2 separate regions of the Homo sapiens genome follow, and region 1 is linked to region 2. The links are contacts of gene promoters, found by promoter capture Hi-C in human tissues and cell types (Jung and others, 2019). All regions are on one chromosome and are shown on one strand. The core of a region is centred on a gene start or on the middle of the fragment in contact, and the rest is flanking DNA. Distances in the headings are between cores, read along the strand shown. Region 1 overlaps FCHSD2 (FCH and double SH3 domains 2). Region 2 holds the start of ATG16L2 (autophagy related 16 like 2).

What was found. Contacts are between HindIII fragments. The study calls those that stand out against the background at their distance.
Region 1: a fragment that was not itself captured here is called in contact with the fragment with the promoter of ATG16L2 in region 2 in 2 of the 25 tissues and cell types used here (IMR-90 fibroblasts and dorsolateral prefrontal cortex).

The regions. Positions count from the first base shown.
Region 1 is chr11:73,124,473-73,129,134 of GRCh38, forward strand. All of the region lies in intron 2 of FCHSD2 (FCH and double SH3 domains 2), which reads right to left. Among named protein-coding and RNA genes, the nearest start is that of FCHSD2, 16 kb to the right of the region's middle. The HindIII fragment of the contact is 4,053 bases long and covers 1-3,591 here.
Region 2 is chr11:72,812,020-72,816,795 of GRCh38, forward strand. ATG16L2 (autophagy related 16 like 2) reads left to right here and starts at 2,392. Exons shown (of 18, transcript NM_033388.2): 1 at 2,392-2,544; 2 at 4,709-4,776. The coding sequence starts at 2,427. It overlaps LOC107984421 (a long non-coding RNA gene), which reads right to left and starts at 2,048. Exons shown (of 3, transcript XR_007062771.1): 1 at 614-2,048. RefSeq lists enhancers at 655-714, 875-1,004, 3,015-3,164 and silencers at 1,545-1,634, 2,035-2,484. The HindIII fragment of the contact is 4,089 bases long and covers 1-3,973 here.

The DNA of each region.
Region 1 (4,662 bases), core at 315-2,814, 310 kb after region 2:
GGGCCAGGCGCAGTGGCTCACACCTGTAATCCCAGCACTTTGGGAGGCCAAGGTAGGTGGATCACCAGAGGTCAGGAGTTCGAGACCAGCCTGGCCAACATGGTGAAACCCCGCCTCTACTGAAAATACAAAAATTAGCTGGGCATGATGGCGTGTGCCTCTAATCCCAGCTACTCAGGAGGCTGAGGCAGGAGAATCACTTGAACCAAGGGGGCGGAGGTTGCAGTGAGCTGAGATTACGCCACTGCACTCCAGCCTGGGCAACAGAGTGAGACTCTGTCTCAAAAAAAAAAAAAGGAAACAATGGCCAGAAGTTTCCCAGGTTTCATGAAAAGCATCAACCATTGAATGATGAACCCCAAACAAGATAATTACAGACACTATACTAGTCACATTACACTCAAACTGTAGGAAACCAAAGATAAAGAGAAAAAAGCTATTAGAGCAAGGGAAAGCACATTCCATAGATGTGAACAAGTCTATAAGTAAGAGCTAACTTCTCATCAGAAATAATGAAAGCCAGAAGACACTGGAGTGACCAACTCAGAATTCTATATCCAGCAAAAATATCTTCCCAAAGTGAGGGTGAAATAAAGACATTTTCAGACATATGAAAGCTAAGAGAAGTGTCAAAAGCTGCAGAATTGCACCAGAAATGCTGAAGGAAGTTCCTTAAGCTGAAAGAAAATGATAACAGATGGAAACTCAAACCTGTATGTTGGTTTCAGGAAGGAAAGAAGAGTCAGGATTAGTAAATATAAGACTTTTTTCCTTCTCTTAATCTTTTTAAAAGATACCTGTTTAAAGAAAACTAACATTATATTACGAGGTTTATAAGCAGCACAAAGTCTGGGATGGAATAACTGTAATTAGACCATTGTAAGGTCGTATGTGGAATGGTACAATATTAACTCTAAGTAGACAGTGATAAATTAAGAATGCATGGTGTAGATCGAGTGTGGTGGCTCATGCCTATAATCCCAGCACTTTGGGAGGCCAAAGAAGGGGGACTGCTTGAGCTCCACAGTTCAATGATGCCTGGGAGACATAGTAAGACCCTGTCTCTACTAAGAATTTAAAAAATTAGCCAGGCATAGTGGCACACATCTGTAGTCTGAGCTACTCAGGAGGCTGAGGCAAGAGGACTGTTTGAGCTCAAGGGGTTAAGGCTGCAGTGAGCCATGACCGCACCACTATAACCTAGCCCAGACAACAGAGACCCTGTCTCAAGACAAAAAAAAACACAATGTCATATCTTAGAATGACCACTTTAAAAACAGAGGAATAGCTAACAAATGCAAAAAGAAAAAGAAAAAAGAAAGAAAGAAAATGGAATACTAACAATTTCAATTGATTCAATGTAACTAAGAAAAACTATTATATAAAACACTTCTTTTAGTAAAACAGAGCAAACCATTCTTCCATGGAGAGAGCTGGCTAATGCAAAACTACATTTCACAACAGAAACAATGTTTTAATTGATGGCTATGATATAAAACCTTTGGATAAAGGCAGCTAAAATGAAATTTGACATTAGGCAAGACTCTATCTAATATGTTTGCTTGTTTCAAGACAAAAGAATTCCACGGCCAGGTGCGGTGGCTCACACCTGTAATCCCAGCACTTTGGGAGGCCGAGGTGGGCGGATCACAAGGTCAGAAGTTCGAGACCAGGCTGGCCAACATGGTGAAATCCCATCTCTACTAAAAATACAAAAATTAGCCAGGCATAGTCATGGGTACCAGTAATCCCAGCTACTTGGGAGGCTGAGGCAGGAGAATCGCTTGAACCTGGGAGGCAGAGGTTGCAGTGAGCTGAGATCACGCCACTGCACTCCAGCCTGGGCAACAGGGCAAGATTCCATCTTAAAAAAAAAAAAAAAAAAAAAAAAAAAAAAATTCCACAATACAGAAAGAAAGGAATACAGTAGTACATAAAGCTTGTTTTCCCAACTTTGTGCTACAACCAACTGGAAACCAATCACTTTATGAAGAAAAGTTTGTAAATCAAGTATTCTTAATACTTGTACATATTAGAAATAAATTTTAAAGTCTATTAATAATGAAAATAGCTTCACTAAAAACTAATTAAAAGCCAAAAATGGCATTTTAGCATCAACTAATACGAACTTTTATAATATCTGTTAAATATCTGTTATGCTTAACAGACATGCAATAAAATGTTTACCAATATTACTGAATCATTAAATTTTAGTTTTGAGCATAATATTCACATAGTTTAAAATTCAAAATACACAAAAAAGAACATACAATAAAAAGCTTAGACTGGGTGCAGTGGCTCACGTCTGTAATCCCAGCACTTTGGGAGGCCAAGGCAGGTGGATCACTTGAGGTCAGAAGTCCAAGACCAGCCTGACCAACATGGCAAAACCCTATCTTTATGAAAAATAAAAAAATTTGCCGAGCATCGTGTTGCACACCTGTAATCCTAGCTACTCAGGAGGCCAAGGCACAAGAATTGCTGGAACACGGGAGGCAGAGGTTGCAGTGAGCCGAGATTGCACCACTGTGCTCCAGCCTGGGATGGAATAAGACTCTGTCTCAAAAGCAAACAACAAAAAGAGTCTCTGTCCCTTGCTCCCATCCTCCAATCACCAGTAAGAGGAAAAACAATTATCACTAAAATACAATCAGGAGACATATATAATATATACTCCAACTTGTTTCTGTGGAACCACAGACATGGTAACACTTTTCATAACACCAGAAATAACATTTTCTTATTAAATTGGGATTATTTCCAAGCTCACAAAACAGAAAACATCTGGATGACAAAGGATTCCCACATGAATGCCAAAAAGATCAAATGGAATGTTAAAACAAAGCACGATCAAGGAATATTGAAAGGACCTAACAAAATGAAATTAACAAAAATACCAGCTAAGGTTCCATAAATTACTCCCGATCAACACTGACAGAACATCTGCAGCAGTGGGACAAAGGACAGGGTTACAAGTTTCTGTGCCTAGATCCCTAATTAGTTACTGAAAAGCCAAGAACACGAGCCAGACTTACAAAACTAACCCCTGCTTATGCATCAGATCACCCCTGAAGACTGATACCAACAACATAGAATGGCATCTGTGGGGCTCAAATGAACATCTGGAGAATTTACAAAGAAAACCATCAACTTACAGGCCTCCTCAGATAAACAGCTTCAGACTTGATACTCTCAAGAGTAAATTGCCAATCATCAATTATTAAGGGGCAAATTATTCAGCTAAGGGTGATTAAAACTCTTTATATGGCCTTCCCTCCTTTAAATTTAGGCACTTCACTAATGCCTTCACCTGAGAAGTAAAAAGAAGTTCACAGCTGGGTGCAGTGGCTCAAGCTGTAATCCCAACACTTTGGGTTGGGGGGCGGGGGTGGGAATCACCTGAGGTCAAGGTCAAGAGTTTGAGACCAGCCTGGCCAACATAGTGAAGCACCGTCTCTACTAAAAATACAAAAAATTAGCCAGGCGTTGTGAGATCACACCACTGTACTCCAGCCTGGGCAACAGAATAAGACCATCTCAAAAAAAAAAAAAAAAAAGGTTCACTGAGAACACAATTGCCTGCGGGCCCTTTGACCACCATTTCTCCAAATTATCAGAAGACTGAAGTGGTAAGATTGGGAGGAGAATCCTAAGAGGCCAAAATACAAAAACCTACTCCTAACCTGACATACTTAATTCAAAAGGAATTGGGAAGAGGGAATACAAATAATTTCTATGGAGTCTCTAATTACCAGTCAGCTTGGGACAACTGGAGTTCCAGTGATAGCCCTCATAATCTAACTCCAATGCATTTTTTAATACTTTTATGGGAACCTCTAGGAGTAAACTGGAAATGGGTCCCTGCAGCAAATCAGGCAAAACAATAATGTGGCAAAAGCTACATTACTGCCACCACTACCTTTTTTGTTTGTTGGCAAGGACCTACCTCCAAGAAGATCACATTTCCAGCCTCCTCTGCAGCTAGGCATGTTCAAGCATATGACGCAAACACAGATAATGAAATATAAGGGAAAGTCTGTTGAGTTAATTTCTGGTAAAAAATTTCTTCCCTGGTGGAACAAAAGAAAAAAGGAAGGAAACAGAGATGGGGGAAGGAGGGAGAAAGGTAGGAAAAATTTGCATAAGGAGAAATTGTCCTGCTCTCCTCTTCTTCCACCTGAAGTTGTTATATGAAAATATAGTACTTGGAGTTGCAGAAACTATCCAGCAATCACGAGGAGAATCATTACCAACATACAGAAAGATGGAAGGTACCTAGGACTACTAACCGTGGTGAAAGATTCTGTAGCATCACTGGAGCAGTTTATCTTTGAGATTAATTTCACGTTTCAACCCACAGGTTACTCTTTAAAGAATAAGTCAGGCTATAATTTCTTTTTATTTTTATTTTCTTTTTGAGACAGAGTCTCGCTCTGTTGCCCAGGCTGGAGTGTAGTGGTGTGATCTCAGCTCACTGCAACCTCCATCTCCCGGGTTCAAGCGATTCTCCTGCCTTAGCCTCCCCAGTAGCTGGGACTACAGGCATGTGCCACCGTGCCTGGCTAATTTTTTGTATTTTTAGTAGAGACGAGATTTCACCATGTTAGCCAGGATGGTCTCGATCTCCTGACTTCTTGATCTGCCCACCTCGGCCTCCCAAAG
Region 2 (4,776 bases), core at 1,142-3,641:
ACCCGGGAGGAGGCGGTTGCAATGAACCGAGATTGTGCCACTGCACTCCAGCCTGGGTAACAGAGACTCTGTCTCAAAAAACAAAACAAAACAAAACAACAACAAAACCAGCGATAGTGGCATGTGCCTGTAGTCTCAGCTACTCGGGAGACTGAGGTGGAAGAATCATTTAATCCCAGGAGGATGAGGCTGCAGTGAGCCATGATTGGGCCACTGCACTCCAGCCTGGGCAACAGAGAGAGACCCTGTCTCAAAAACAAAACAGAACAAAAAAAGTGAAGTACTTTAGGTCCCCAGATTATGGTATAACATTTTTTTATATTTATTGGTCAAATCATATATCTCTTACATAAATAATTTGAGATACATTAAACAGCAAGTTAAATGTAAAAAGCAGAAATTTGTCTCCATATATTATCTAAAATTTTATTTCAAGTGATCTTTATAATACAATCTTTCATATTCTAAAAATAGAACATGAATATTTTTAGTCAAAATCAATCACTTCTTTATCATATACTACTCAAAAATGACTATTTATTTAACATTTCCTAGGTGTATTTTGTGAGTCAAAAAAGGATTAGGAAACCCCTGCCCCAATATGGCTCCTTACCTGAGAGAAACGGCATCTCTGCACCTCACAGCCAGGCCAAGCCCTGTTAATATACTCTCCCATGCACACAGCCAGAGTTCCTTATTTATATAGTGTCTCCAAGCACCCAAGAGTCCGCCAGTTCTAAAGGGAATTCATCACTGTCATCAGCTGGCCCTGGGTCTCCATGGGTACTGTGCCTGTCTCCTGGGCATGGCTTTTGCTGAACGTTACCACCCATCTTCAACACAAATACTCCTTCAAGAGACAGGTCAGGCCTGGTTTGGGGCTAGAGGTACAGAGACATCTAGGACCCAGGTCCTGCCCTAAGGGGCACCGCACAGATTACAGGATGGTGTGATAACTGGTGACGGTTATAACTCGAACTCAACTGGGGCTGGTGTCTGAGAAGCTTGAACTCAGTGTAGGGGCAGGAAAGTTCTCCTGGAGGAGGTGATGCATGATTAGGAGCCAGGCCCCCTAGAGGCGACGATGTTCCAAACATCAGGCTCGGCCTGTGCAAAGGCCATGGGCGTCTAAGACAATGACATGTGGGGGACTGAGCCCAGCTCACTGGAAGCAGAGCAGGCTACACTGACCTGGGGGCGTCTAGGCCTTCACTGCTTTCTACGTCCTCTGACCCATCCCCATCAGAATCTCAACAGACTCGTCACCTCCAGGGCCTGCACTGCTCTCCCATCGTTGCCCAACTTCTCTCGTTCCCTAGGGATGTTCAAGTCTGCCAACACTCAGAGGGCAGGGCCTGCTGGCATGCCCCAGGGTGAGGCTGTGCCCAGCGAGTCCCTCCTTTCGTGTCTCACAGTAGCCTGAGCCTGCAGAGCTGGCTCTCTAGCATCTAGCTAGAGACGGTTTGACCACAGTTCCCTGCGACCCATGATTCACTTTCGAGGGTACCCACAAGAGATGTGTCTGCTCCTCCAGACGCCGCCCAATGGGGTGAAGCGTCTGGCCCTGAGTCAGGATGCTGGGGTGCTGGCCGTCTCAGCTACCCACTCCTTTGCAACCCCAGGCAAGCAAGCTCGTTCTCTCCTCCCGGCCAGGGGCTTTCTAGATGAAATCAGCTGCACCCCTTTACTCTCAGGGACCTAAAATTTCGGCGACCATGTGGAGCCGTAAACCCTTCTGCCTCCTGTCCTCCCAGCCCCGCACCCACCTGGCGTTTTCGTGTCACGGAACCTCTGCACGTGCTCTTCTCGAGGCCTAGAGTCCCTCTCTCCCTCTGGCCAACTCCTATTTCATCCCTCACAGACCCAACTCGAACGCCATCATCCCCGGAAAGCGGGGATTCCTCCCTTCAGTCTCTGCTTCCTTATCTTGCTGTCCTGCTGCGCCGCGCCCTCAGTGTACGCGCAGAGCCCGGGGCTGAGGGCCTCTGGGTCCCTGGCTGGGTGCGCGGCCAGGAGCGCGACGGCCTGGGAAGCACCAGCGGCTCTCGAACTCGGCCCGGGCGCGGCGGGGTTAAGACACCCGGGCCTTGAGGGCCCCGCCTCCGGAGCGCTCCACCCGCGTGGGGGAAGCCTCCCCGGAGGCTCCGACCTCGCTCCTGCTTATGACCCTCGCAGCCACAGGAGCCCCCACTTAGGTGAACATTTCGGACGGGGCCCCGGCGGTTCAGACCCGGAGGCGGCTCCTCCCGGAGGCAGATCCTCCCGGCGTCGGCCTTCGGTCCTCCCCGCCAAAGCCCTCTTGGGACAAGCCGGGGATTCCCCGCCGCCGCCCGCCCCCTGGCGTCACGGAGTCCCCGCGAGGCCCCGCCCCGGCCTGGCGCCGTCCTGGGCGGGAGGAACGCGCCGCTAGGCGGGAGAGCGCGGCCATGGCGGGGCCGGGCGTCCCCGGTGCCCCCGCAGCGCGCTGGAAACGCCACATCGTGCGGCAGCTGCGGCTTCGGGACCGTACGCAAAAGGCGCTTTTCCTGGAGCTGGTGCCGGCCTGTGAGTGCGCCCCGGTGCTGAGAGGATGGCGGCTGAGGGGACGCGGCTACGGGCGCGGGGAGAGGGTTTGGCTGGCTCCTCCGCCTGTGACCCGAGTGCGCTGTGCCTTATGCCTTGAGCCTGTGCGTTACGCCCATCCCGACTGCCAGGACTCCGCCCCTTGCCATCCAGGCTCTGGTTAGAACCTGGACGAGCCCCTCCTGGTCCCCCTGCCCTCGTCGCCCCTCAGGACGGGCTCTGCCTCCCACAAGCTGGGCTTCCGAGACGCAAGTGCGTCCTCGGGTGTTGGTTTTGCAGGGTCTCTTTTGCCTCCCCACCCGGGCAGTCCCCGGGGTAGGGGCTTGATCAGTGCACTTAGTCTCGGTAGCGCAGTGAAAGAACGCGGGACTTGTCCAGAGCAGCCACTTATTGGCCCATCCGGAGAGGGGCGACACTCGGAACCTCTAAGGAGGAGGCTGTGCATCTCAGGCTCTGCCGCTGACAGGCGACGCTGGCACAGGCTTATGGAACACCTCCCTGTCAGCCTACCCAGCCTGAGGGGGCATCAGGGGGCCCCGGGCTGCTGGTGGATGCTGGCTGAGCCCAGCGAAGTCGGACTCTCAGAATTGTTTCTGGGCAGCTGGTCAGGATAGGGTGTGGCATTTCAAGAGGGGATGAACAGGTGTGCCTGTGTGTCGCACCTCTGGCCGCCTGCGATTGTATGTCTGTGGTTGGAAGTCTAACCACAATCCCTGCGGCTCTCTCACTGGGGCTAATCTTGGCCAAACCCCCACAATCAAATCTGCTCTTAGCCAGGAAAATTTCTCTGCAAGCTTCCAGGCTGCTGGTCCTCTACCTTCAGGGTTGCGAGGCCAGCCCCCACCTCCAGCAGCCACACTTCTCCACTGCTCAGACAGACAGTGGAACCGTCCAGTTTGAGGGAGGGGGTCACCGCCCCCCCAACCCCTGCCCCCCGCCCCGACCCAGGGAGCTGTGAGTCTGAGGGACTAGAGAGATCTGGAGGGCTGAAATCAGACTGAAGGGCCAGTCTTGAAACCTTGGGCAGATCACATCGCTAAGCCTCAGTCTTCTTACTTGTTAATTGGGTATAGAGACCTTCTTTAGGTTTGCTGGGTGCTGCAGTACCCTGGGGGCTGAGGTGGGGTTTTCATGAGAACTAGGCCAGGCCCAGGGCCTCAGTCAAGGTGACAGGGCACTGAGTGTGGGAAGGAAGTTGATGAGGAGGGAGCTAGGCCCGGACTTACCACCCCACCCTCCCCTGGAACTGGTGAGAAAAGAGGAAGTGACTGTTGATGGGGGAGGGTGTTCCAGGGTCAAACCACCAACCTCCAGAATGTCGGCTGGATAATTGCTCAAGGACTTTCTATTCTGGCCTGGGGGTACCTTACACCAGGGCTGGGGAAGTTGGGATTATTTATTTATTTATTTATTTGAGATGGAGTCTTTGCTCTGTTGCCCAGGCTGGAGTGCAGTGGTGTGATCTCCGCTCACTGCAAGCTCTGCCTCCCAAGTTCACGCCTGTCTCCCGTCTCAGCCTCCCGAGTAGCTGGGACTACAGGCGCCTGCCACCACGCCTGGCTAATTTTTTGTATTTTTTAGTAGAGATGGGGGTTTCACCGTGTTAGCCAGGATGGTCTCGATCTCCTGACCTCGTGATCCGCCCGCCTCGGCCTCCCAGAGCGCTGGGAATTCAGGTGTGAGCCACCGCGCCCGGCTGGGGATTATTTTTAAGTGCAGAAAGCTAGAGCCCTTGGAGGGGAAGTGACTTGCCAAAGGCCATTGACAGGTAGAGCTCGGTTTATTTCATCACTTTCTGGGGCTAAGCCTTGCTCTGAGGCAGGGATGAATCAATCCCAGGCCCCTTCCTTCCCTCAGGACCCTCAGCGGGCAGTACCCCGCAGTGGTCATCCTTCTGTCCCTGGGAGAGCAGGTCCTCTTCCACGTGGGCCTGGGGACCGGTGCTATGAGGACACTGCTAGGGCTGAAGGTCCTGTAGAACTGCACAGATGCCCCTCAGGCACAGGGCAGAGGCCAGCCTGCCAGAAGCTTCCCCATCCCTAGCATCTCTGGGCTCCTTCAGCCCTTTTAGCCGGAGATAAATTGCATGCCAGGGGGCTGCTGGGTATCTGTCTCTGCCCCAGGCTCACTCTCTTGCACTCTCCAGATAACCATCTCTTAGAGAAGGCTGAGCTGCTGGACAAGTTCTCAAAGAAGCTGCAGCCGGAGCCAAAC